Regions from separate parts of the Homo sapiens genome. Here all the other regions are linked to region 4. The links are contacts of gene promoters, found by promoter capture Hi-C in blood cells and fetal thymus (Javierre and others, 2016). All regions are on one chromosome and are shown on one strand. Each heading gives the region's core, a stretch centred on a gene start or on the middle of the fragment in contact. The rest is flanking DNA. Distances are from core to core; before and after follow the strand shown.

Region 1 (2,954 bases), core at 67-2,566, 1.3 Mb before region 4:
CCCCAGGAGAACTTTCTTCTGATCTTGGCACTAGGATTTGCTTTTCTTTAACAGATTGCAGCAATATACCCTTCATTTGACCCAGTTTATTCATTCAAAAGATACCTGGAGCCAAAACCATGTATGAGAAATAGCAAAGGAAGAGGCAGGCACAAGCTGTGTTTATATACCCACCAAAGGACTACAGCAAAACACATATATTCTAGTCAGCTCTGAGTGCACCTGTCTGTGTCAACAGTAGACCAGCGTGGTCTGGCAGATGACCATATGACCCAGCTGATTCACTCCGGAGTTAGAGGAACTTTTCCCAGACCCTGAAAGTCACCTTTTTAGACAACTTCGCAAACAGCCATCCTTGTTCACGGTATCATGCCCCTTGTCACTGCTAAACAGACCGTTTGCAAAGAAATTTCCTAAACATCACCACTGAGGCTCCTTCCAGCAATGACTCTGGTCCATCATTGGGATTGCTGAGCAGCTGTTTCATAACATGAACAAGGATGTTTTAACCATGTTTCTTGACCTGGCCATTTGGATCCCAAGGATGTTTTGGTCCAAGAATAAATTCCAGAGCTTAGGTAGGTTACATACCACAACTATATTCATTTCCTACTTCTATTCTTTCTCTGTGCAATCCTTTTCCTAGCACTGTAACTGAAAGTATTTTTCTAAAACATTAATGTGATCATACTATGTCTCTGCTGAAAAGCCATCAATCACTATCTACCTATTACTGACAAAAACATGACATTCTGATCCCACCTGATCTGCTCTTTCTCATCAACAACTCTTCTCCTTATGTAATTTCTCACCTGGTGACCAACCACACCCTGCATGTGCTATACATTCATTTATGCTTTTTCACCTGCTCAAGGCCCCCAGAATTATTTTCAAGTATTATTTTTCCCAACACAAAGCATCAGTCGATACCTGTAGTAAGTCTGAAGCATCTCAGAAGCATTTATTGACAACCCAGTCTTCTACTCTCCTCTGCCTCCAAACACACAGCACATACATTTTGTCCCAAACATTTGTAGGCCATCATTGTCTTTTGCCTGGCATTTCTTTACTAATTAATATATATTTTTATTCATGTGTGTATATTTATCTCACCAATATTTGGGAGCAGAGCCTATGTGTTATTTTAGTTATACAGGTTGTTGGGTGATATGGCTGTGAACCTGATATGCTATAGATTATAAGGGGAGGTGGAACCTGTCACACTTCCTCTTCCTCCATCACTGGTTGTCTGTCTCAAAGCTCACCGAAGAAGACAGGAAAACTTGTCAGATGGGGAAGGATGTGTCAAGAGCATGCACACAGATTTACTCTTCAGCTAGAAGCTCCAATTCCTAGATGATCTGAATCCAACTCAGAGTGCTTGCACCTGTTTCCTGCCACACAGCTAGAGCTGGTGAGTCTGATTTAAGTAATTCTACAGGAAGACAAGGCTTACATAAGAATAAGTAGTCGAGTAGACAGATATTTCCTCCATGGAATCTGCCTTGTTCAGAAACAAGTTTAATCAGTTACTGACTTATAGTAAGAATGTGAATGTCATAATTTTATTAAAAGTTTTTATAAATAATTTCATTGTAATTTAAGCATCGATGAAAATGTGTTGTATATGGTCATGTACTTGCTTTGTTTTCTTTTTGTTTATTCTATCGACTTTTACGAAGCACTTACACTGTGCATGAAGACACATGGGATAGAACACTATCCCTGCTATTGAGGAATCCCCTGTAACCATTTCAGTGACAGAACAGCTGAAGCTCAGTATGGTCAAGCGACTGGCCACTGGCCAGACCTGATTGTCATGAACTTCAGTTAAGGTCCTCTGATTCCCATCACAGTCTCTTTCCACTCCTTATGCTGTTTCATGGCCCATGTTCAGGGAGTGACTCTGGTCTGCCTGGATTTCTGAAATCTTATACGGATGGCTGGTGAGCTTAGAATAAAGATGCAACATGAGGAGGCGTACCTGTTTCCCATATGACTTCCAGGAGGCCAGGAGAGCAGTCTTCCCGAGTCAGGCAGGAGCACTGTGCCTAAAGCAGCTTCCCGGGGAGAGCAGTGACGTTCCCGGTCTCAGAGAATATCTGAACCCCATCGCCCCCACCAGTTTACCTTTCAAAATGCTTCTTTCCACTGGCACGCAGTGCTCAGTAAGACCTCACAGTTTCCCTGGGCTGTGGTCCAATTTGATTACCTCCTTTTTCCATGCTTGGAAGCTGCTATGCAATAATCTTTTTAACCTCTGCAAAGCCAGGACAAATGTGACAGCAAAAGCAATGTTAGTACTTGAGGACGTTTTCTCCTTTTAGATTTTGAGGATTTATTTCATGTTTATAAAGAGAGCAGAAAAACTCTGTCACTTTCTGTTGGTGTTATCCTGGTCATCTCAGAGCTCTCATTAACTCTTATCCTACCCCCAGCAGAAACTAGAGAATTCTGAGGAAAACACACTTTCACTTCATGGAAATATCTCAGCCACTCTTTCCAGCGTTGCTTTTCCTTCCATCCTAACCATCTTGTTTTGATCTTAAATATCTTCAGAATCTGACTTTTGAAATTTATTTTTATATCTCTTTCCAGCCACTTTTGATTAATCTCTCAATAGGGTAAGCAACATGATTTTCTTTTCTTTTTTTTTTTTTTTTTTAAAAGCTCCAGCTCTGGCTTCTGGCTGGAGTGCAGTGGTGAGATCTCCACTTCCCAGGTTCAAGCAATTCTCTCGCCTCAGCCTCCTGAGTAGCTGGGATTACAGGCACCTGCCGCCGTGCCTGGCTAATTTTTTTTTTTTTTTTGTATTTTTAGTAAAGACAGGGTTTTACTATGTTGGGGCCAGGTTGGCCTCCAACTCTGGATCTCGTGATCTGCCCGCCTCGGCCTCCCAAAGTGCTGCGATTAAAGGTGTGAACCACTTCACCCAGCCAATTTTAATTTTAAAA
Region 2 (3,119 bases), core at 117-2,616, 1.4 Mb before region 4:
TGTCTGTAGAAAGAATTCACGCCCTTCACTCATCAACTCTCAAAGTCACACAAAGATACAGATATATCCAGAAAATATCACATGGTGCACATCCCACAGTGGGGGGGAGGGTAGCCTCTTGAGATTGAAGCTGAAAGAATACAATTCTCTTTCTAGTGATACTGCTTAGTAGAGGCATAAAGTGAGGAAGTTAGTTGCATTTCTGAGCCCAGTATCTTCATATAGCAAACAGGGCTTTAAATTGAATTCCTAACTTACACCATTATGTCCTTCGCAATGAGATGCCTTTGAAGCAATTACACACGTACTACATAAAGGGGAACCTGTTAGCAAATTTAATATATTAATTATCCCAATATGTAGTGTGTTAGCTCTTTTTCACTGCTTTAAATTGGGGTATAATTTCTATATACAAAACTGTACCTATTTTAAATGTTCAGATGAATGTGTTTTGAAATTTCATACTTTCATGTAACTCCAAAAGAATAGATAAAAGATACAGAGTTTTCCACCATGACAACAATTCCCTTGGACCACTCACCAGGCAATTCTAGCTGCCTGCCTCACAAGAGAGGCAGTCACCTTCTGATTTCTGCATTGCCTATTTTTGATCTTCAGATAAACAGAATTGCGATATGTGTTTTTATGTCTAGTTTCTTGCTCTCTATATAATGTTTCTGAAACCCAACCATGTAGTTGTGTATATCTTCACTCCTTTTATTCATTTTCAATTCTATGAATATACCACTATTTGTTTATTTATTGTACTATTGATGGATATTTGTGTTATTTCCAGTTTTGGGCTATAATGAATCAAATTGCTATGAACATTCTTAAATAAGTCTTTTTGGGACACTTATTTTAATATATCTTAGAAAAATATCTAGGAGGGACAACGCTGAGGATTAAGGGAGGTGAATGCATGGACTTGATAAGAAACTGTTGACATTTCTTCCATAGTGCTTATCCCATGATACACACCCAGCAGGAATATGCGGGTGTCCAGCTGCTGCACATATTTGCAACATTTAGTATTGTTTGTGTTGTAGCCAAATCAGAGATGTGAGATGTGGGAGATGGATCCCCCACTCCTGCAACAGGGTAGCACAGCAGGCTCCAAACCCGATCAGCAAATGACTTGAGAAAACAAGGAGGGGTGACCGGTTTGGGGGTCGATGCTTTTTGAGGAGTAGAGCTGGCATGAGGGTTACTGCATGTAAGTCAGAGTTTGCATGGTTCAAACTTTCAACTAGCTTCGCCTTTGTAATGTAAAGCTTTCTAGTAAGTGTAAAATGGTATCTTCTTTTAGTTTTAATTTAATTTTATCCAATGACTAATGATGTTGAACAAATTTAAATAACCTGCTGACCACTCATACCTTCCTTTATTATCAGTTGCAAGCTATTGCCGATTTAATTGTTTTATTTTCTTTACATTGGTGATGTGTTGGAAGCTTTATGTTTTGAATATGAGTCTTTCACAAGATATGTGTGTGTATAAATATATATATAAACATATGTACATGCACATATACATGTAACACATGCACACATAGAAAATACTTTTCATGCAGAACAATTTTGCTGGTGATGATTTATTACAGTAGACCCATAAACAACATGAGGTTAGGGGGAACCAACTTCCTCCATAGTCACAAATTGATGTATAGCTTTTGACTTCCCCCAAACTTAACTACTAATAGACTACTGCTGACAAGAAGCCGTACCGAAAACATAAACACTTTATTACCATGTATTTTGTATGTTAGATGTATTACGTACTATAGTCTTACAGTAAAGTTAGCTAGAGAAAAGAAAATGTTATTAAGAAAATTATAAGGAAGAGAAAATATATTTACTATTTATTAAGTGAAAGTGGATCATCATGAAAGTCTATATTCTCATCTTCACGTTGACTAGGCTGAGAAAAAGGAAGAGAGGTTTTGGTCTTGCTGTCTTAGAACTGGTAGAGGCTGAAGAGGTAGAAGGAAGAGACAGGAGAGAGAGGCACGTGGTGTAACTTTATGGAAATACATCATAATTTCTGTCAACATTTTTGCTTTTTAATTTATCTACAAATATTTCTATATGGTACCAATTCTTCCCCCACCATTTGTTGTAGTCTCAGTGCCCATATCCTACAAGGGTCTATCTATGCTGTAAAAGCATTTCAAAGTAGTCTTGAATAATCAGAATGATTCTTCCAGATTGTCTAATAACAATTTGTTTTCTGCACTGTTTTTTCCATCTCCCTCCTCATCATCTGATACTGGTTCAGAAGCACTCAACTCCATCCAAGTTGTCTTCTGTTAATTCCTCCAGTGTGGTATCTTTTCACTTTTGAATTTCTCTCAAGACTTATACCTTGAAACCCTTCACACCCACCTTTTTTTTTTTTGCCATATGCATAATCTCTTTCATTATTTCTTTGATTGGCTCTGTTGTAAACCCAGTGAAGTCATTCACAACACCTGGACCCAGTTTTCTCCCATAGAAATGTATTGTTTTGGGCTTGATGGCTTTCATGAATTTTTCCATAGCAATAATGGCATTTTCAATGGTGTGACCCTTCTAGACATTCATAATGTTTTCTCTATCAGTGTTCCCTTCCACAGCATTGACAATCCTTTCCATAGAGTACCATGTGTAATGAGCATTAACAGTCCTTCTGACCTCCCGATCTAGAGGCTGAATTAGAAACACTGTGTTTAGGGACAAGTAGATCACTTCAGTGATTTCAGTGTTGACCTCTAGGGCTTCTGGATGGCAAGAAGCATGATCTATTATCAAAAGCTTTAAAAGGCAATCCCTTACTAGGAAGGTACTTCCTGACTTTAGGGACAAAGCATCAATGGAACCAGTTAAGAAGGAGTTTTGATTGTCCAGGCCAACTTGTTGTACAGTCAGAAGACTGGCGGCTGGTGTTTATCTTTGTTCTTCAAGACTCAGGGGTTAGCAGCTTTACAGATAAGAGCAGTCCTCATCAGAAACCCAGCGGCATTTGCACAACATATTAGAGGTCAGTTATCCCTTCCTGCTTTAAATCTTAGTGCCCATTTCTCTTCCTTACTAATAAATGTCCTTTGTGCCAATTTTTTTTCCAGGTTGAGCAATTTCATC
Region 3 (2,800 bases), core at 202-2,701, 1.3 Mb before region 4:
TATTTATACAGTGGAATTACATATCTATAAAAATGAAAAGTTATATAGGCATATTCCTCAATATAGAAAATCTCCTTCCAGGACACTAGATGTCAGCTACATGAATGCAGTTTTTATGTATTCTGTTCACTATCATAGCTCTAGAGCCTAGACTCAAGCACAAAGTACGCTGTCAATAAATACATTTTGAAAACATGTTTGTTAAACGTGGTAGCCAGAATTCTAAAATGCCCCTTGACTTTTGCCCCAGTGGCATTCCCAGGATATACTACATTACACAGCAAAAGGGATTTTGCAGATGTCATTATGGTTACTTATCAGTTGATCTTAAGATAGGGGAGGTCATCTTGGTAGACCTAACCTAATGGTAAGAGCCCTTTGAAAATAGGAATTTTCCCAGATAATAGTAGAAGAGAAGTTTCGAGAGATTAGAAGTGGGGAGAGATTTGACCTGGAGGCGGCTGTCCATTGCTGAGATAGAGGGTCATTGTCAAGGACCTGAGAGGAGCCTCTAGGAGCAAAATTGGTCCGTGGCCAGCACCCAGCAAGAATAAAAAAGGTCCTCAGTTTTGCAGTGACAAAAAACTCAAGTCTGCCCAAGACCAGAATGAGCTTGGAAGCAGATTCTTCCCCAGGGCCTCCAGATAAGAGCCCAGCTGGGCACATTATCTTGACTTTGTCCTTGTGAGATCCTAAGCAGAGAATCCAATCGAGCCTGCCTGGAAATCTGACCTGCAGAACTATGAGATAAATGGGAGTTGTTTTCAGCTAAATTTGTGATAAGTTGGTGTTTAGCAATAGGAAGCTAATAAATTAGACAAAATAAGAAAGTTACAAACAGCATATACAGTATGATTCCCTTTTTTGTTTATATATTCATGTATTTACGAGTTTATAGAAGAAGACCAACTGAAACATATGCACAAAGATGTTAGCAGTAGGGTTTTGGTTGCTAAATTAAATTAAATTGAACAGACCTAGTTTCATTTAACTAGTAGACATCTGGGAAGTCTGATACCCATGATTGTCATGGGCTAAATCTCGTGCAAATAAACTTAAGCCCTTTTCAAATGACACTTGACCATTGGAATTAATCTCTTCTTGCTGTTTGTTCACAGAGAAGTATAGTTCTGGCTGTGAGATCTCAAAAATCAGAGTTCAAATCCTAACTTCACTGCTTAGGAGGTTTTTAAACTAGGGTGTTTTAAATAACCTCTTATAGTTTTAGTTTCCTTCCATCTGAAATCTGAATGAGAATACTCACCAGTGAGGATCATTATGAAGATTCAATGGGATGATAAATGCAGAGGACATAGTACCACCATTACTAAGTACCTGGCCAACTCTGCCACCTACATTCACTAGTTGTTGTTCTTAACGCTTTGATAAGCATTGAGCTCCTTTAAGAGTTTCCAATTTGGTCTTTCCCAGGATCTTTCTGTGAGCATGTCATAGTATTCTCTAGTGTCTAGCACAGTGCCTGGCAAATACCAAGTGCTTAGTAACAACTTCTGGTTCAATTAATTCACGAATGAGTAAAATGAATATTGGTAAAGTTGAATGCTTGGCTCCCAAGACAATGCAGATTGCAGTCACACAGCACTACCACGAGATGTCAGTATAAATAGGAAAGCTCTACAATTCAGGACTATTCTGGACCATCTTCCCCATCCCTCTTCTAGGGCTCCCGGGAAAACACACAACTGCATTACTGAAGGCAGAGAGCAACCTGCCAGGACTTTGCTCACCTCTCTCCTATTTTCACTGTGTGGTTTAATGCCTTAAAAACACAATTCCTGATGTACAGAGAAAAAAATATCTCTGCTGAGCTTGCCCTAAATAAAGACCCAAGAGACCTCATTTGGGGCCACTTCTGTATGCACACCCTCTTTCCTGTCCCTGCCTTAAATCTACATTTTGGGCTTGGATAAGGAGGTGGTGCCATAAGGAAGAACATGCAGAGTCAAATTCTGATTCCTTTACTTACTAGTTGTGTGTGTGTGCAAGTTTCTCAACTTTTCTGAGCTTCATTTTGTCATATGAAAAAATAAGAAAACCAATATATAGAGATTACTGGTGCAATGTTGCAACCATGCAGATTTAAGCAGAATAGCCTTCTCTAAAGACTAATTCCAAGACTGTCCTGGAATCAAAAGGAAGTATTTTCTTTGCAACTCTGGATGGATATGGACAGTAAGCCCACAACTACTTGGCCTAGAGCATTCTATCTCCAACAGGTGCACAAGTCTCTGAAAAAGGCTTACTTTGACATGGCCCCCAATGGTAATTTACACTTGCAAAAACACACTCTATGGAGCACAGAGATTGTTCCTCAGCTCAGCAGACTCTAAAAAAAGGGTATGGATGTCATTGTCTCTCTGGCTTCCTGTGGTCTCCATAAAACCTCCAAGTAGAGTATTTTGGGCTCATAAAAATGTCCGCAGCCCATTTCTCATCTGCTTTAATGATGTTTCCTAATGGTTAATGTTGAGATTGGCATCTTTTCTCTGGGGAAAGTGTTGTGAGACTGGCTTTCCCCTTCCCCAAAATAGCTGGTGCACACAGCCCATGAGCTGGAATGCAGAGCTAGGATTTTTCTCTTCCCATGAAGAGATATATCCTCCAAGATATGGGAACTCTACCTCATTTTTTGCAGTAACAGGCAGAACGGCCCTATTGCCACTGGGAAACAGTTGACACACCCGTTCAAGGAACTCTCTCATGGTGTGCCCACCAGGAGGGAGGAATGAAATAGACAATAAAGAAAAAGATATTACTTAGCATAGATTATGTGTGAAAA
Region 4 (2,793 bases), core at 213-2,712:
AATAACAAAAAAATAGCCAGTCATGATGGTGTACACCTGTAATCCCAGCTACTTGAATGGCTGAGACACGAGAATCGCTTGAACCCTCAAGGCAGAGGTTGCCGTGAACAGAAATTGTGCCACTGCACTCCAGCCTGGGCAGCACAGCAAGACTCTGTCTCAAAATAAATAATAAATAAATACAATTAAAACTTCAAAATACCATTTAGGAAGGAGCTATAAACCATTAAAAAAATCACATATTCTGACAAAGAAAGCCCTCTTCCTTTCTTTGTCCCTCAATTGCAAAACACATCAGACTGAATATATGTCTAACCACTTCTGCTCAATTTACTTTCTTTGTGGGATGTTCTCATTTGTAGTTACAACTGGCTACATAATTTGCAAGACTCTATACAAAATGAAATTGCAGGGTTCCTTGTTCAAAAATGATGCAGAATTCCCAGATGACAACAGCATTTGACTCAGGACAAGGCCTTTTCAAGCATGGGACCCCATGCAAAAACACAGTCACATGCCTAAGAATCCAGCCCTGGTTGTTAATGATTCTTGTCGTTCAATAAATGCTTATAATTTCAATAAATTTATTGTGCAGAGTAAAAGTATATTTACATAATCTCAATTTCAATGTAGATATGGTTATATGCCCACATGGAAGATTAAACTGATTATCACCGGGCCATAATAACTTTGCTGAAGACAAAAAAGTCAGGATCCCTGGGTTCCAATTTCAATTCTGCCCCTCAGTAAATACCAGGGGTTCTTGGATGAAATGAGAAGGCCTCTGGGCTTTTCAGCTCTAAAGTTCGGGTGTTCTGCATGAATTTAGAAAAGTGAAAGGTTTTAAAACATGCTAAAAACACTTCTCACTTCATCCCCTAGCTCCATGAGAATGACACTCTCAAAGGACTGGGAAAGTGTGGCACCATGAGGATGTATTCTCAGTGACAAAGGAGCTTCCTGGGGCTCTTAGGATGGCATTGAAACAGCCCTTTAGCAAGAACAATAACAAAATGCTGAAGTGCTGGGAAAGTCTTTCCCAAGATCTCTCCCGAGCTGCACACACACACAAATCAACACAAGGGCCAAGGCGCAAGACGAAAGCACCATGTCTATTTATGCTGCAGGTAGAAACTTCCACACACACGTTCGCTCATTTCATCTTCCCAGAAATTCTGCAGTGTCGATAATAAAGTTGCAAAACCAGATTCAGAGAGGTTAAAAAACTTGCCCAAGTTCACAAAGTTCGAAAGTGGTGGAGTTCGGCCCAACTCGGGACTATCAGCCCCTGAAGGAACCCAACCCCCTTTCCACCAGCACGCGCTTCCCTGGGTTGAACTGAACCCAGACGTGTGACCGACGCTAACGGGCTGGCACTCGCGGTCCCACGTTGGCTCAGGGACACCCTTTCGGGGGCGTGTCCTCCCAGTTCTAGAGGTTCCCAGAGAAGAGGAGGTGCTCACTAACCAGGCAGCTCGCCCAGACTCCGGGCAGTGAGAGGGAGGGAGCGCCGGCCGCGGGAGCGGGATGGAAACCAGCAGCCCGCGGCCCCCGCGGCCCAGCTCCAACCCGGGGCTGAGCCTGGACGCCCGGCTGGGCGTGGACACTCGCCTCTGGGCCAAGGTGCTGTTCACCGCGCTCTACGCACTCATCTGGGCGCTGGGCGCGGCGGGCAATGCGCTGTCCGCGCACGTGGTGCTGAAGGCGCGGGCCGGGCGCGCGGGGCGCCTGCGCCACCACGTGCTCAGCCTGGCGCTCGCGGGCCTGCTGCTGCTGCTGGTCGGCGTGCCGGTGGAGCTCTACAGCTTCGTGTGGTTCCACTACCCCTGGGTCTTCGGCGACCTGGGCTGCCGCGGCTACTACTTCGTGCACGAGCTGTGCGCCTACGCCACGGTGCTGAGCGTGGCAGGCCTGAGCGCCGAGCGCTGCCTAGCCGTGTGCCAGCCCCTGCGTGCCCGCAGCCTGCTGACGCCACGCCGGACCCGGTGGCTGGTGGCGCTCTCGTGGGCCGCCTCGCTCGGCCTCGCCCTGCCCATGGCCGTCATCATGGGGCAGAAGCACGAACTCGAGACGGCGGACGGGGAGCCGGAGCCCGCCTCGCGAGTGTGCACGGTGCTGGTGAGCCGCACCGCGCTCCAAGTCTTTATCCAGGTAAGGGCGTGGAGAGCGGGAGTCGGGGGAGGGGGGGTGGGGGGGCGGTGCTGGGAGGAGGGAACCCCCTCTCCCCGGGGAACAGACATTTTCGACTCTAATGCTCGCCACCACCCAGCAAGTTGGGTCTTGTTGCTCTGTCCCATTTTACTAGAAGGAGGGAGGCGTGGCCAAAGTGAAGCATTGAGAGAAGTCCCGATTTCAATTCAAAATTAACTCCAAAGTCAGTGTTCCCACTCTTGCGAGAGTGGTGCTCAGACATTTGGGCGTAAAGTTGCCTGCAGAGCCTGTGAAAATCCGGAGTCCATGACCCACCCAGGTTCCTGCCTCAGTAGCCCGAAGTCTGTGTTCCAACGAGCTCCCCAGACGGCTCTGGAGAGGGCCTCCCTGGAGGTAGGGTGGGGACGGGGAAGGCACTCCCGGCCTCTCTTCCAGAGGCCTGATCAGGCTTCTAACCTCATTTCCTGTTACCGTCTCCCTGGCAGCCTTGCCTCCTCCAGGCCACTTGTCCCCCCACACCTCTTGCTCCCGCTTTCCCCGAACCCCACACCATGCCCAGCCTCTGGCTTTTAAGTCAAAAGCTCATTCTTCTGCTTTTGGTTCCAACCCTTCTTATTCCCCAAAGTGCAGCTCTGATCTCAC

Evidence for each region. The method cuts DNA at HindIII sites, captures the fragments that hold promoters and counts their contacts. A CHiCAGO score of 5 or more calls a contact.
Region 1: a contact is called between a fragment that was not itself captured here and the fragment with the promoter of NTSR2 in region 4, in 1 of 17 cell types (total B cells). The highest score is 5.8, in total B cells.
Region 2: a fragment that was not itself captured here is called in contact with the fragment with the promoter of NTSR2 in region 4 in 4 of 17 cell types (activated CD4 T cells, total CD4 T cells, total CD8 T cells and 1 more); the score reaches 9.7 in activated CD4 T cells.
Region 3: a contact is called between a fragment that was not itself captured here and the fragment with the promoter of NTSR2 in region 4, in 1 of 17 cell types (neutrophils). The highest score is 5.2, in neutrophils.

The regions. Positions count from the first base shown.
Region 1 is chr2:13,000,048-13,003,001 of GRCh38, reverse strand. LOC100506474 (a long non-coding RNA gene) reads left to right here. Exons shown (of 6, transcript NR_038434.1): 3 at 394-578; 4 at 1,261-1,414. It overlaps LOC105373436 (a long non-coding RNA gene), which reads right to left and starts at 2,213. Exons shown (of 5, transcript XR_001739293.2): 1 at 1,985-2,213. The HindIII fragment of the contact is 4,127 bases long and covers 1-2,954 here.
Region 2 is chr2:13,018,497-13,021,615 of GRCh38, reverse strand. The region is part of intron 1 of LOC105373436 (a long non-coding RNA gene); the gene reads right to left. Among named protein-coding and RNA genes, the nearest start is that of MIR3125, 280 kb to the right of the region's middle. The HindIII fragment of the contact is 179 bases long and covers 1,277-1,455 here.
Region 3 is chr2:12,930,223-12,933,022 of GRCh38, reverse strand. No RefSeq gene overlaps it. Among named protein-coding and RNA genes, the nearest start is that of MIR3125, 190 kb to the right of the region's middle. The HindIII fragment of the contact is 3,999 bases long and covers 1-2,800 here.
Region 4 is chr2:11,668,864-11,671,656 of GRCh38, reverse strand. NTSR2 (neurotensin receptor 2) reads left to right here and starts at 1,462. Exons shown (of 4, transcript NM_012344.4): 1 at 1,462-2,151. The coding sequence starts at 1,528. RefSeq lists an enhancer at 1,485-2,021. The HindIII fragment of the contact is 6,464 bases long and covers 1-2,793 here.